Regions from separate parts of the Homo sapiens genome. Here regions 1, 3 and 4 are each linked to region 2. The links are contacts of gene promoters, found by promoter capture Hi-C in human tissues and cell types (Jung and others, 2019). All regions are on one chromosome and are shown on one strand. Each heading gives the region's core, a stretch centred on a gene start or on the middle of the fragment in contact. The rest is flanking DNA. Distances are from core to core; before and after follow the strand shown.

Region 1 (2,999 bases), core at 249-2,748, 310 kb before region 2:
CGAATCTCATCTCAACCTTTTACAAGCTCCATGATCTTTGCCAACTTACTTAACTTCTCTGAACCCTAGAGGTTCCATTCATGAAATGGGGACAACAGCTACCTCTCAGAGTTGTTGTGAAGATCAAGGATTACATGTGTAAAAATCACCCAGTAGAATTCCTGGCACATAGTAGAGGCCATTCATTCTTTGAACAAATATCCTTTGAGTATCTTCTATGTTTCTGGACACTGGGCCACGCTTAGGAGTACAAAGATGAATATTGCAGGACTCCTCTCAAGGAAATCAAGTGAAGGAGATGGCAAGTAACAGACAGTAGCTGCCAAGTGAGATTGGTGCCCTGGAGTTGGAGCTTGGAGTGGAGGGCCGGGGTGGGCGGCGGGAGGTGCTGGGTTCTATTCCAGCTCTGCTCTCACTTGCTGTGTCCATGAGCATTAACTTAGCCTCTCTGAGCTCCAGGTTCATCTGTAAAATAGAGATGATCACACCTGCCCAAGTACTCCCTACTGTGAGGAGACTGGCTGAAGTGTTGAAATTCAGAACGTTTCTTTCCAGGGTTGCTAGAAACTTCAAGGAGAAGCTGAAATGGAGGCCGGAGGTAACAGAAACAGTTGGAAAGAAAGCAAGCCAGCAACAGAGCAAGCCAGGATCATTGCCCTCTGGCTCCCACGGCCTCTACCCTCAGCACTATCGACATGAAGGGGAGCTGCTGAGGACTTCCCAAACCAAAAGGGAAAACAAGTGCATTCTTGAGATTAGCTGAGACAAACAACAGCCGGGAGCCTCATGTTCCCATGGACCCTGCCGGGGCTGTCCCCAGAAGAGGGGCTGGGCTGGCCTCCGGTGGAAGAAGGCCAAGCATTTTGAAAGGGCCACACCTGTGAAAAGGCACTCCCTCTGGCACTTGTCCTGGTTCCGGGGACCACACTTTGGGCTTCTACTCTGTGTTTCCCATGGCTCAGGGCTCAGTGCACAGCTGAGTTCCTTTAGCCCCCCAACACCTGTTGACCTACTGGGGACCAGAGCCTGCATCAGGCTTGGGGGGCATAAAATGGTAAATAGAGCCACCACCCCTGAGTCTTCTGAGGAGTCCTTGTGTGCCCTGTGGAGTGAGCTGGAAGGACCAACAGTATGGTCTATGCTGAGACAGGTTCAAGGACCTGGGGTCAGAAGGAACCCTGAGGCTTGCTTCCCAGTGGGGGTGGCCACAGAACAGACCCCTAGAGCCAAGATCATCAGGCAGTTATTCATGGAGATGAATAGCCAGGGCTTCACTACTGATCCAGAGTTCTGACCACCTCAGGTCTCTGAAGTGCAGAGCCATAACCCTGGCTCATTTCACCTCTGCAGATCCCATCAGTGCCCTGGCTTGGTGGAAATCTCAGAAGTATAATATTCTACTCCTCAAGAGGGCTTACAGCTTCGTCCGCCCCCCTCTCAGGATGGTTATGTCTAAGAGGGCAGGCCTTACCCCAAAGGACTGAGTATCTCGGGTTAGATTTTCAGGCATCAGATGGGTCAACAGCCTCAGGCCCTGAACTTCACTAAACAAGGACATGCCTCCTCTACCCACATGAGAGGCCTTCCTCAAGCATCTCGAGAGTTGTCAGGGCTATCTATCTCTCAGTCCTGGAAGGAAAGGACAGAGGCCCCATGGCTGAGGGGTGTCCCCAAGCTGGCCCCCTTCACTCAGCTTGGTCCCTCTTTTCTCTTCTTCCCCTGTTTTCCCCCTTACCAGCATGCCCTGAATATTCACCAGGGCCAGGACAGACCCTCAGAGCCCCAGAAGAGGCTAGATGAAGCGGCAGATGCAGGAAAAGGACATTATCTTGAGTGACTGGACAGGGGTCAGACTACAATGGACAAAGGGGCAGGCCTGGGCCCAGCTGGGAACAGCCTTGTGCCAATGGGGAGGTGGGATTGGGCAATCAGAAGTACACACTCAAGGCAACGATTGCAGCAGTAGCATGGCAAAGAACTGAAAGAGAAACTAAGGGTGCCTATCTCTACCTCGGCTGCAGTGAGAGTAGCAGCAAAGGAACCGAGGGAGTTCTGCCTTTGCTTTTCATAGGCAAGGTAGCCAGGCCTTAGGGTTTTGAGTTCTAGACTTCCTACTCCCTAGAGATTTTAGTTTCACAGTAGGAAAAATGAAGAAAGAGAAGTTGCCTGGAGTCAACTGCAAATGAGGTTCCTTTCTAAAGGTCTACATCCATGGAGATAGTCAAGGAGTAAGGAGGAGGCCGGGGCTGGACGAGGAGAAGGAAATGGAGTTGGGGAAGAGAAAGAGGTAGAGAGGAGAAAGAGGGGAGGAGGAGGAAGAAGGAGGGAGGAGGAGAGAGGAGGAAAAAGGAGGGAGGAGGAGAGAGAAGGAAAAGGAGAAGAAGGGGAGGAGCAAGAGGAGGAAATAGAGAAGCAGAGAAGAGGGAGGATGAAGAGGAGGTCAGGGAGCAGGAGGAGGCAGAGAGATCCTGGGCCTGGGAGGTCAGAATTCCATGGGTAGAGGATCCATGCCTGCTGGTGCACAAAGCCCTAAAAGTGACAAGGCTCTAAATGGGGTGGCCACATAGGGCTGTCCAAACTTTGAACACTATGTGTTATATACTTACCAGCCGCAGAGAAGGTCCCCGAGGCCAAGCCTGTGGTGGGACAGAGCTGATACAGTTGGCAGAGCTGCTGTCTTGGAACAGATCTGGTGGGTCTGCTCAGATGTGTCTGGGCAGCTGCAGACAACAGGCTTTGCCCCCATGAGCTTCTGAGGCCTCCAGAGTTCCAGGCTCCTGCTCTTCTCAGGGTAGGGAGAAGGAGCCTCACTCCACAAAAAGTGACCTTTTGTGATCCTCAAGTTTTGTAGATCAATTTTCAGCTGTTTGATACCAGTTATCAGGTTGCTCTTCTGTGCAATTTTTCTCTGCTTGATATGCGGTAAAAATAATTTTTAAGAATAAATTTGCTTTAAAAATAATAAATAGTCCATAGAGATTATATCAAGATGGCACACT
Region 2 (2,919 bases), core at 47-2,546:
TTAAGGAGCACACTGTTAAAAGGCACACCTGATTTTCCCTGAAACAATCTCTGTACATGCTGAAATAATTGGATTCCCATCAGAATTCTGCTTAAGGTAGGTGACAACTAACTCCTGATTCTTTGGAGAAAGATCAGAACAAATGTCTCATCAGGAGAGAGATTTGAACAAGTCCCTCCCTCAGCCTGATGTTTGTCTTCCCAGTCTGTGGCAAAATACATACACTGGGAGGGAAAGAGGCATCGAAGAATTGTGAAAGAAAGGAAGAAAGGGGGGAAGGAAAGAAGTAAGAAAGGAGAAAAAGAGAAGATGCTATATCCACCAGCTACATTTACTCTAATACTTGATGAACATATTACATAACTATCAGTATAAGTGTGTTTTACCTCGTAAATACAAATCTCACACCTTGTACATGTGCATACCTGTGTTTCTGAGCAGCACACATGCACCTGGTATCTCACCCATCTCAAGGACAGCTCCTCTCCATGACTTCCATATGTGACCCCTGTGCACACACATACACAGTCCCGCAAAGTCCCGGGCAACAGCCCCGCCTGTGTTAGTGCAATAGCTGAGGGGCATCTACTTGGTGCTGTTAAAGCACACATCCAACCTTCACTCCAACCCCGTAGGATTAGTACACGGATTCCTGGTTCCTAGATCCACTGGTAACGCAGGGAGAGGCAGAGGTGATTCAGGCGGCGCCCCTGACGACTATTTCCAGAGATCCTCTCCCCTGCCCCATTCCAGCCCAGTCACTCTGAGAGCGCGAGGGACAGGCCAGGCCGAGGCTTCTTCGTACAGTCACACCCGTTTCTGGGCTGACTTTCCCAAAGCCTCAGAGCAGCTCTCCCCACCCTACCCCGTCCAGCCCCCTCGCCGTCTCGCCCCTCCCCAGCCCCGAGCTAGAAGTTCAGCCTCAAGACGGCAGCAAACGGCAGAGCAAAGGAGTCGTTTTCTTTCACCTGAAAGCCGCGAGGAGGCTTGGAGCGCCTTTCCTCGCTGGGGCCCGAGCTTCCTGGGCTTTGGCCGGGTGCGGGCAGACCCCACCGGGGTCCTCGTCATCTCCCAGCCCAGCCCGCAGAGCGAGTACCGGCAGATTTCAAGGGCGCGTGAGCCTGGCTGTCGGCTGGGCCCCTGAGGCTCGCTGGGCGGGGGCAGGCCGGTCCAGGCTGTGCGGGGCGTTTACAAAAAGTGACTTGGAGATGAACTCGCCCGTGCGCGGCTGGCCGCCCCGCTATAGGGGCGAAGGCGCCTGACGCAAGCGGAACTCGGTGGAGCCCATACGAATCAGAACAGAGCGAGGCTCCTGGCGCACTAGGGACTCCAGGAGGCAGCTCCGCCAGAGACGCGGGTCGTGCTTCGGGAAACCGGGGGGCGGGGGGAGGGGAAGAGCGCAGAAAAGAAAACCCACCAAGGCGGGGACTGGCCTGAGCGGGGAGGGGCGGCGAGGCCGGAGCCCCTCTCTGTTGGGCGGACTCCCCATGGCCAGAGGCTGAGCTCCACTCCCGCCGGCCGCTCCCTAGGGGAAGGGGAAGGAGAGGGGAGAGCAGCGACAGGCCTCCAGCAAGCAAGCGCGGGCGGCATCCGCAGTCTCCAGAAGTTTGAGACTTGGCCGTAAGCGGACTCGTGCGCCCCAACTCTTTGCCGCGCCAGCGCCTGGAGCGGAGAGCAGAGGCGGCCCGGCCGCGGCGCGCCGGCTTTGTCATGATGGCCAGCTACCCCGAGCCCGAGGACGCGGCGGGGGCCCTGCTGGCCCCAGAGACCGGTCGCACAGTCAAGGAGCCAGAAGGGCCGCCGCCGAGCCCAGGCAAGGGCGGTGGGGGTGGCGGCGGGACAGCCCCGGAGAAGCCGGACCCGGCGCAGAAGCCCCCGTACTCGTACGTGGCGCTCATCGCCATGGCGATCCGCGAGAGCGCGGAGAAGAGGCTCACGCTGTCCGGCATCTACCAGTACATCATCGCGAAGTTCCCGTTCTACGAGAAGAATAAGAAGGGCTGGCAAAATAGCATCCGCCACAACCTCAGCCTCAACGAGTGCTTCATCAAGGTGCCGCGCGAGGGCGGCGGCGAGCGCAAGGGCAACTACTGGACGCTGGACCCGGCCTGCGAAGACATGTTCGAGAAGGGCAACTACCGGCGCCGCCGCCGCATGAAGAGGCCCTTCCGGCCGCCGCCCGCGCACTTCCAGCCCGGCAAGGGGCTCTTCGGGGCCGGAGGCGCCGCAGGCGGGTGCGGCGTGGCGGGCGCCGGGGCCGACGGCTACGGCTACCTGGCGCCCCCCAAGTACCTGCAGTCTGGCTTCCTCAACAACTCGTGGCCGCTACCGCAGCCTCCCTCACCCATGCCCTATGCCTCCTGCCAGATGGCGGCAGCCGCAGCGGCTGCAGCAGCTGCGGCTGCAGCCGCGGGCCCCGGTAGCCCTGGCGCGGCCGCTGTGGTCAAGGGGCTGGCGGGCCCGGCCGCCTCGTACGGGCCGTACACACGCGTGCAGAGCATGGCGCTGCCCCCCGGCGTAGTGAACTCGTACAATGGCCTGGGAGGCCCGCCGGCCGCACCCCCGCCTCCGCCGCACCCCCACCCGCATCCGCACGCACACCATCTGCACGCGGCCGCCGCACCGCCGCCTGCCCCACCGCACCACGGGGCCGCCGCGCCGCCGCCGGGCCAGCTCAGCCCTGCCAGCCCAGCCACCGCCGCGCCCCCGGCGCCCGCGCCCACCAGTGCGCCGGGCCTGCAGTTCGCTTGTGCCCGGCAGCCCGAGCTCGCCATGATGCATTGCTCTTACTGGGACCACGACAGCAAGACCGGCGCGCTGCATTCGCGCCTCGATCTCTGAGAGCCCACCGCATGCCGGTGCAGACGGATGCGAGGATGCAGGGACGCGCGACGCCGGCCCCGGTCGCAGCCGACGACG
Region 3 (3,205 bases), core at 181-2,680, 260 kb after region 2:
TCCTCATGGTTGCTTTTCTACCAAGTGGGACTCTTCTAAGTCTGACTCTTCTGCAGACCTGACAGGAATAGGTGAGGAGTTTTCCCAAGCCTAGTATATAGTGGTAAAATTATAATCTTCTGTATCATTACACTGAAGTTGACTAATTTTCCCCACTTGATTTCAGTGTTGAAAAGTGCAAATACATGGATTCCAAAATGAAGCCTTTGTGGCTGGTATACAATAACAAGGTATTTGGTGAGGATTCAGTTGGAGTGATTTTTAAAAATGGTGATGGTAAGTACTGAGATTTTTAACATCAAATTTCTTAGAATTTTTCATTTGTTGCCATTTTGCTTTATCTGAAAGGTGATGTGTAGTGTAAGTGTGTAACAATTTGCAGCCAGGAAGGTAGCTATTAATGGTCCTAAAGTCAAGTTGAACATGTCCTAAATGCTTTTTTTTTCCCCCTCTTATAAAATGATTTATACCATTCACTTAAATATACTGTCCTAATGAACCTTCTTTTATTTCCCCCTACAAAATACAAAACGCGCCTACTCCTTTGATTAAAAAGCTTATGAAATACAAGATATTATTTTTACTTTTTTTTTTTTTTTTTTGAGACAGGGTCTCACTGTCACCCAGCCTGGAGTGCAATGGCACGATCTTGGCTCACTGAAACCTCCACCTCCCAGGCCCAAGTGATCATCCTACCTCAGCCCCCAGAGTAGCTGGAACTACAGGCACACACCACCACACCTGGTTCACTTTTTGTATTTTTTGTAAAGATGGGGTTTCACCATGTTGACCAGGGTGGTATTGAACTCCTGAGCTCAAGTGATTTACCCACCCCGGCCTTTCAAAGTGCTGGGATTACAAGCATGAGCCACCGTGCCCAGGCAAGGATATTTTCAGTAATATATTCATACATCTTGTTTCAGTGATAGCAATATTGATTTTGCTGCCATAGTTTTGTATTTTGATGAAAGTACCTAACAGACCCAAAATGTGTAAAGGAAATGCCTCTGAAGTAATCATACCAGCCAATAGGCAGTGGTGACTTGTTAGTTATGTGACTACAAACAAGGCACAGAAAACTGATTGAGCTTCAGGTTTTTCATATCCTTGAGAATTATAGCATCTGTATGTCAGGGTTATTAAAAGGAATTGAGATAACATAAGCAAATGTGCTTATCAGAATATGTGCTTACAACTTAAAAAGAACTCATAGGGTTTTGCTAAACATTTAATGTCACTTGACCATACAAATGTCATTATGTGGATGTCACTAGTTTCATGTGCTCTCTTCCCTGAAAATACCCTTAGACATGATAATAAATTGAACCATTACAGTTTTGTGACCTCGTGATGCAGTTACTTACGTGATTCTTAAGAACTCTCCGTATAGTGGTAAAAGCAAGCAAGAAGGAAAAAATTAACCATGTAATTAATGTAATACACATACAGTGTAATACAAACAGTATTACAGCATACAATTAGTACCCCTGAACCCATGTGTTATCCTCTCGGACCTCTAGTAAGTGACTGTGCTTTGCGCAGTGAATCTCCTGTGAATAGCAAGCAGAAAGTCACTGCCTTATGGGAGTAGTAGGGCCAGCTGTCAGCCTCGGGAGGTAGAATATAATCAAGGAAGGAAAATCTTAAAAGTTCTCCGAAGCTATGCTTATATTCAATAGGATGTAACTTACACATGGCAAACAATTTAAAAAATCTTTTAATTTAATGTCTGAAATAATGTCACAGGGACATGCTATCCAAAGAGTGTAATATTTGTTATAAAATTAGTGAAAATATTAGCACAGAGTTTGTTAATGTTTTTAGTTAATTCTGAGTTAGTCTTGAATTAATGAGTTACAGGGCATAAAAGGAAAAGCACTTGTAATGAAGCAGTTTGTTTTCCCTTAGATTTACGACAGGATATGTTGACACTCCAAATGTTGCGCTTGATGGATTTACTCTGGAAAGAAGCTGGTTTGGATCTTCGGTGAGATCTAGTCTTTTTTTTTTTTTCAGTCTAATGTCTTCCCATAGCAAAAATATCTAGAATTTCTTGTTAATTCCTTCCCTCTTGTTCTTATTTTTAGTTGTTGTTCATAATAATATTTATATAGCACTTTAGAATGTACTTTCAAATATGTTGTCTTGCCTAAACTTTTTCAGTTTAAAACTACACATGTTACTGAAATTCCAGAAAGAAGGAATAGGTTTGAACTTTAATAAGGTTTGGACAGACAGCCAGAATTACATTCCAACCTATGGTGTTGAAAGATGTACTGTGGGTCATGGCAATGACAAGGCCAGAGAAAGTCCTGTGCCTTTTTATACTTAGTCCAGGGACATTGATTTCTCTACCTACCAAGGGAAAAGAGAGGAAAATGTTTAGGTGCATTCTCAGGTTTTTAGTTTGCCACCATCAATAGGGGTAGATAGTGAGCGGAAGAGGTTTGTGGTGTCGTGACAGAAAAAAGGAAACATAAAATCAAGCCTCAGACTGGGAATCGTATTCACAATGAACAGAACAAGGGGTAAATATTTAAAGAGCCCATAGAAGTGAACATAAGGAAAAGATGTGAAAAGGCATTTTATAAAAAGTATAAAAACAAACTAATAGGCATGTTGGCACACACCTGTAATCCCAGCACTTTGGGAGACCAAAGCGGGCAGATCACTTGAGGTCAGGAGTTTGAGACCAGCCTGGCCCACATGGTGAAACCCTGTCTCTTCTAAAAATACAAAAGTTAGCCAGGCGTGGAGCACATGCCCGTACTCCCAGCTACTCTGGTGGCTGAGGCATGAGAATCGCTTAAACCCGGGAAGTGGAGGTTGCAGGGAACAGAGATTGCACCACTACACTCCAGGCTGGATGACAAAGTGAGACTCTGTCTCAAAAAAAAAAAACAAAAAAAAAACTAACATGAAAATTGTCAGTTCCAATTAAGAAGTACAGATTATAAGAACAATTGGGCCGTGCATGGTGGCTCACTCCTGTAATCCTAGCCCTTTGGGAGGCCGAGGCAGGTGGATTGCCTGAGGTCCCGAGTTCACGACCAGCCTGGCCAACATGGTGAAACCCAGCTCTACTAAAAATACAAAAAATTAGTAGGTTGTGGTGGCAGGAGCCTGTAATCCCAGCTACTCGGGAGGCTGAGGCAGGAGAATTGCTTGAACCTGAGAGGCGGAAGTTGCGGTGAGCGAGATCATG
Region 4 (3,178 bases), core at 508-3,007, 340 kb before region 2:
AGAATTCCAGGCAGAGGGGATGACACATACAAAGGCCTGGGTGATGGGGGGATTCTAAGCACTTCCTGGGGTCCCTCTGAAAGGTAGAGAATGACTGGGCATATCTGGATGCAGACCCAGCACAAGGGTGAGGCTGGCAGGGCTAAATAAAGACAGGATCTGCCCCACACCTACACAATTCACCTTACTTCCCTCTCTCTGATCCCGTCTTGTCAGTCCACATCTTCGTCAATACTCATATTCTGTTCATCATGGATTTTTTTTCATTAATTTTGGTTTTTAAAAGATTGCACTAAAACATTATTTATTTTGATTGCTGAGTTTTTTGGTGCCCCCTTAAATTCTGCACCCAAGGTGGGTGGGCTCCTCATTCACCTCATCCTCATCCTGGCTCATTCAAGAGAAGAGGCCTAGAAGTGGGCAGGACAGGGCCCAGGAGTGACCCTTTCAGCTCAGGACTTTACCCTTCACCCTGAAGGCAGCCGGGAGCCACCGGGGATGGTGAAGCAGGGAAGTAACCCCATCAGATGTATTTTAGAAAGCCTCCTGGCAGCGGCAGGGTGGAGGGGGGCAGGAGGCAGAGGGCTTAAAAGCAGAATCCCAGGTGACAGCCAATGAGGGCCCAAGTCAAGGCCAGGAAAATGGAGTTTAGGAGGAAGGCCTGGTCAGGAGCAACACACACTGAAGATTCTAGCAGGCCCAGCATCCAGCCTCCCTAGGCTGTCTTTGGCAAAGGGTGGGTAGAGAATACCCAGATCTTCCAATGGGCAGAGTGAGATGTAGGGTTAAAGTGGTCAGATGACCTGGTTGCAGCTGCCTGGGGCCAAGCTGAGCCCTGCCATGCCCACCCTACAGGCTGGAGCTGTCCAGCTCCCTGCTGGATAGGGGCCATTTGCAGGGCTCTTTTCCCCACTTTGCCCCCACCCCACCCCCTAGCCTAGCCCAGTAGGTCCTGGGCCCTTAGGCAGGACAGGGGCCCCAGGAGCAACGATCTCAGCTCAGCACGCAGGCATAAAGACACACAGGCAGGGAGGTGGGAGGGCAAAAGGAGGTCTGGTCCCCATTAGGGGCCATTTGCTTGTGGTATCAGGCCATTGGGGCTGCGGGCTGGTTAACAGGCATGGCCACGGGCTGCTGGGAAGGAGCTGCTGCCTTGAAATCGCATTGATTGGCTCTAATTTTTCCTGCTCCACACAGGGGGCCCAAAGGCAGCTTAATGCAGGCTGGCAGCCGTAGCAGCCCAAGACAGGATGTCTCTCATGACTAAGAAAAGACAGGGGGCTTCATTTTCTCCAACTGGTGCTTCCAGATAATGCAATTTACTGTCACTAAAATCTCAGCTGGTCAAATTCCACCTCTTCCAAGAAGCCTTCCTGCCCTTTCTAACCCCTGGGCTCTGACATCAGGCACATCTGGGTCCCTTCCCATCTCTGTGTCCTCCCCTTATCCCCCTAACCCCTTTGAAAGCCTCAACTTGTTTCTCTCGCTGCAGGAATGGACGGGCAGGACCCCCATGGCAGACATGTGGTGACAATGATGGGGTGACATAATGATGAGGCACCCTGCTCTGCACAGACCTTCTCTTCTCAGAGCAGGCCTGGCCTTCATATCCAGATGCCTGCCACTGTCCCAATCCCACACCCTAACCCCACCGGATTTGATACACTTCTCTGAAGCTACATGGGAGGAACCTGGTTTTCTCCTTTGAGGACACAGCCCACCCCCACCAAAGAATCCAGGCCTCCAGACCTGAGGGCAAATTTCCCTCTTCCATTTTCTTGCTCACTGCCCACTGTTGTTTTATCTTTTCTCCCTTCTCTCCCTCTCTGCCTCCCCATCACTGGCTTCCCTGGGTAGCATCTCAGGGCCTGCAAATGCTGGGCTCCTGGCTTCTCCCTCTGGCCATTTCTCTGCCTTCATCTTCTTCATCTCCTTATTCTCCAACAAGCTTCCAGCTCTTTCCTTCTTCATTCAGCAATATTTATCAAATAGTCTTTAGTGCCTGCCATGTGCCAAAGGCTGTGCTAGGCCCTGGGCATAAATGGATGGGCCGACATAGGGAATGTCCTAACCATGTCCTCTTGCTTTCTGTCATTTCTGTCTTCACTTTGGGGTCCTTCTTGGGCTGGGAGGGAAACCAGGCCTGCCCTGTCACCACAGAGCGGAGCAAAGCCAGGACCTTGACAGACCATCGTTGCTTCCCTCCCTCCTACTCCAGCCCACACCTGCCTAGGGACGCAGAGGCGCTCCCACTACTCTCTTCCTCCCCCTCTCCCTCCAGGGGCTATTCCTTCCCCCATAAGGTGAGTGAATGAGGAGTAGGGCACCTCCTTTTTTAGTCAGCTCCATCGTGGGGATGGGACAGTGGAAGACAGAGAGGCACAGGAGAAGAGCAGAGAGGACCGAGTGGTGAGGTCACCACAGAGTCAGGCCCATAAAGTGCTGCTTCCTCTGCTGGCCTGGCCAGCAGCCCCAGATCGTTTCAAAGGGCTTGATAAACAGCTTGGCAACCTTATCTCCCCCACACCCCACAGCACAGCATTACAGACTGGGAGAGGCAGCCGTCCTGGCCAGCCGGCCGGCAGCAGCACCGAGGGTAAGGTGCTCCTCTGCTGGGTCAAGGTGCTCCAGGCTCCTTTCTGAGCCCCACAACTGGCCGCCTTCTGGCAGCCACACAGCTGCAATCCCTGCCTGGTCTTGTGAAGCACATCTGTTCACAGTCAGGGGTCAGTGCCCATCCAGGAGCAAGGCAGCATCTACTCAGACCCCCAAGTGTGTATACCCGAGCCTGCATGCACCCAGGCACATGTGGGCACTCTGCACACCACAGATGCCTGCAAAGACACACAGGCACCCCCATGTGTCCACAGGCCCCAGTGCACCCTCAGGTTCACACACATATACTCACATAAGTAAGAATATGTTCAGTCCAGGAATTATATAGCCAGGTGGATTGCAGGAGCAGGGAGGAGTTCTTTCAAATGAAAAATAAAATATGGGCAAAGGAAATTCTGAAACAGCTTTAAAAGAAAAAAAGTAGAAGGAGCCAAGCCAACATCTTAGTGCTTCTGATGCTATCAGATTGGACTGAACTAACATGGGGGCTCAGTCTTGTTCCTCAGGGTTTTGTTCTCCTCTTGGGGCACATCCAGCCCTCTGCCTGGCAGGGCCCAGCAGT

Evidence for each region. Contacts are between HindIII fragments. The study calls those that stand out against the background at their distance.
Region 1: a fragment that was not itself captured here is called in contact with the fragment with the promoter of FOXL2 in region 2 in 2 of the 25 tissues and cell types used here (aorta and pancreas).
Region 3: a contact is called between a fragment that was not itself captured here and the fragment with the promoter of FOXL2 in region 2, in 1 of the 25 tissues and cell types used here (dorsolateral prefrontal cortex).
Region 4: a contact is called between a fragment that was not itself captured here and the fragment with the promoter of FOXL2 in region 2, in 2 of the 25 tissues and cell types used here (H1 embryonic stem cells and IMR-90 fibroblasts).

Annotation. Positions count from the first base shown.
Region 1 is chr3:139,250,702-139,253,700 of GRCh38, reverse strand. No RefSeq gene overlaps it. Among named protein-coding and RNA genes, the nearest start is that of PISRT1, 19 kb to the right of the region's middle. The HindIII fragment of the contact is 9,789 bases long and covers 1-2,999 here.
Region 2 is chr3:138,945,514-138,948,432 of GRCh38, reverse strand. It overlaps FOXL2 (forkhead box L2), which reads left to right and starts at 1,296. Exons shown (of 1, transcript NM_023067.4): 1 at 1,296-2,919. The coding sequence starts at 1,711. The coding sequence ends at 2,841. FOXL2NB (FOXL2 neighbor) reads right to left here and starts at 1,216. Exons shown (of 3, transcript NM_001040061.3): 1 at 969-1,216. The coding sequence starts at 1,068. RefSeq lists a silencer at 1,052-1,280. The HindIII fragment of the contact is 6,167 bases long and covers 1-2,919 here.
Region 3 is chr3:138,680,749-138,683,953 of GRCh38, reverse strand. PIK3CB (phosphatidylinositol-4,5-bisphosphate 3-kinase catalytic subunit beta) reads left to right here. Exons shown (of 24, transcript NM_006219.3): 18 at 167-276; 19 at 1,909-1,987. Among named protein-coding and RNA genes, the nearest start is that of FAIM, 74 kb to the right of the region's middle. The HindIII fragment of the contact is 7,556 bases long and covers 1-3,205 here.
Region 4 is chr3:139,287,997-139,291,174 of GRCh38, reverse strand. It overlaps LOC124906290 (a long non-coding RNA gene), which reads right to left. Exons shown (of 2, transcript XR_007096115.1): 2 at 1-3,178. Among named protein-coding and RNA genes, the nearest start is that of MRPS22, 54 kb to the left of the region's middle. RefSeq lists a silencer at 1,715-1,943. The HindIII fragment of the contact is 4,701 bases long and covers 1-3,178 here.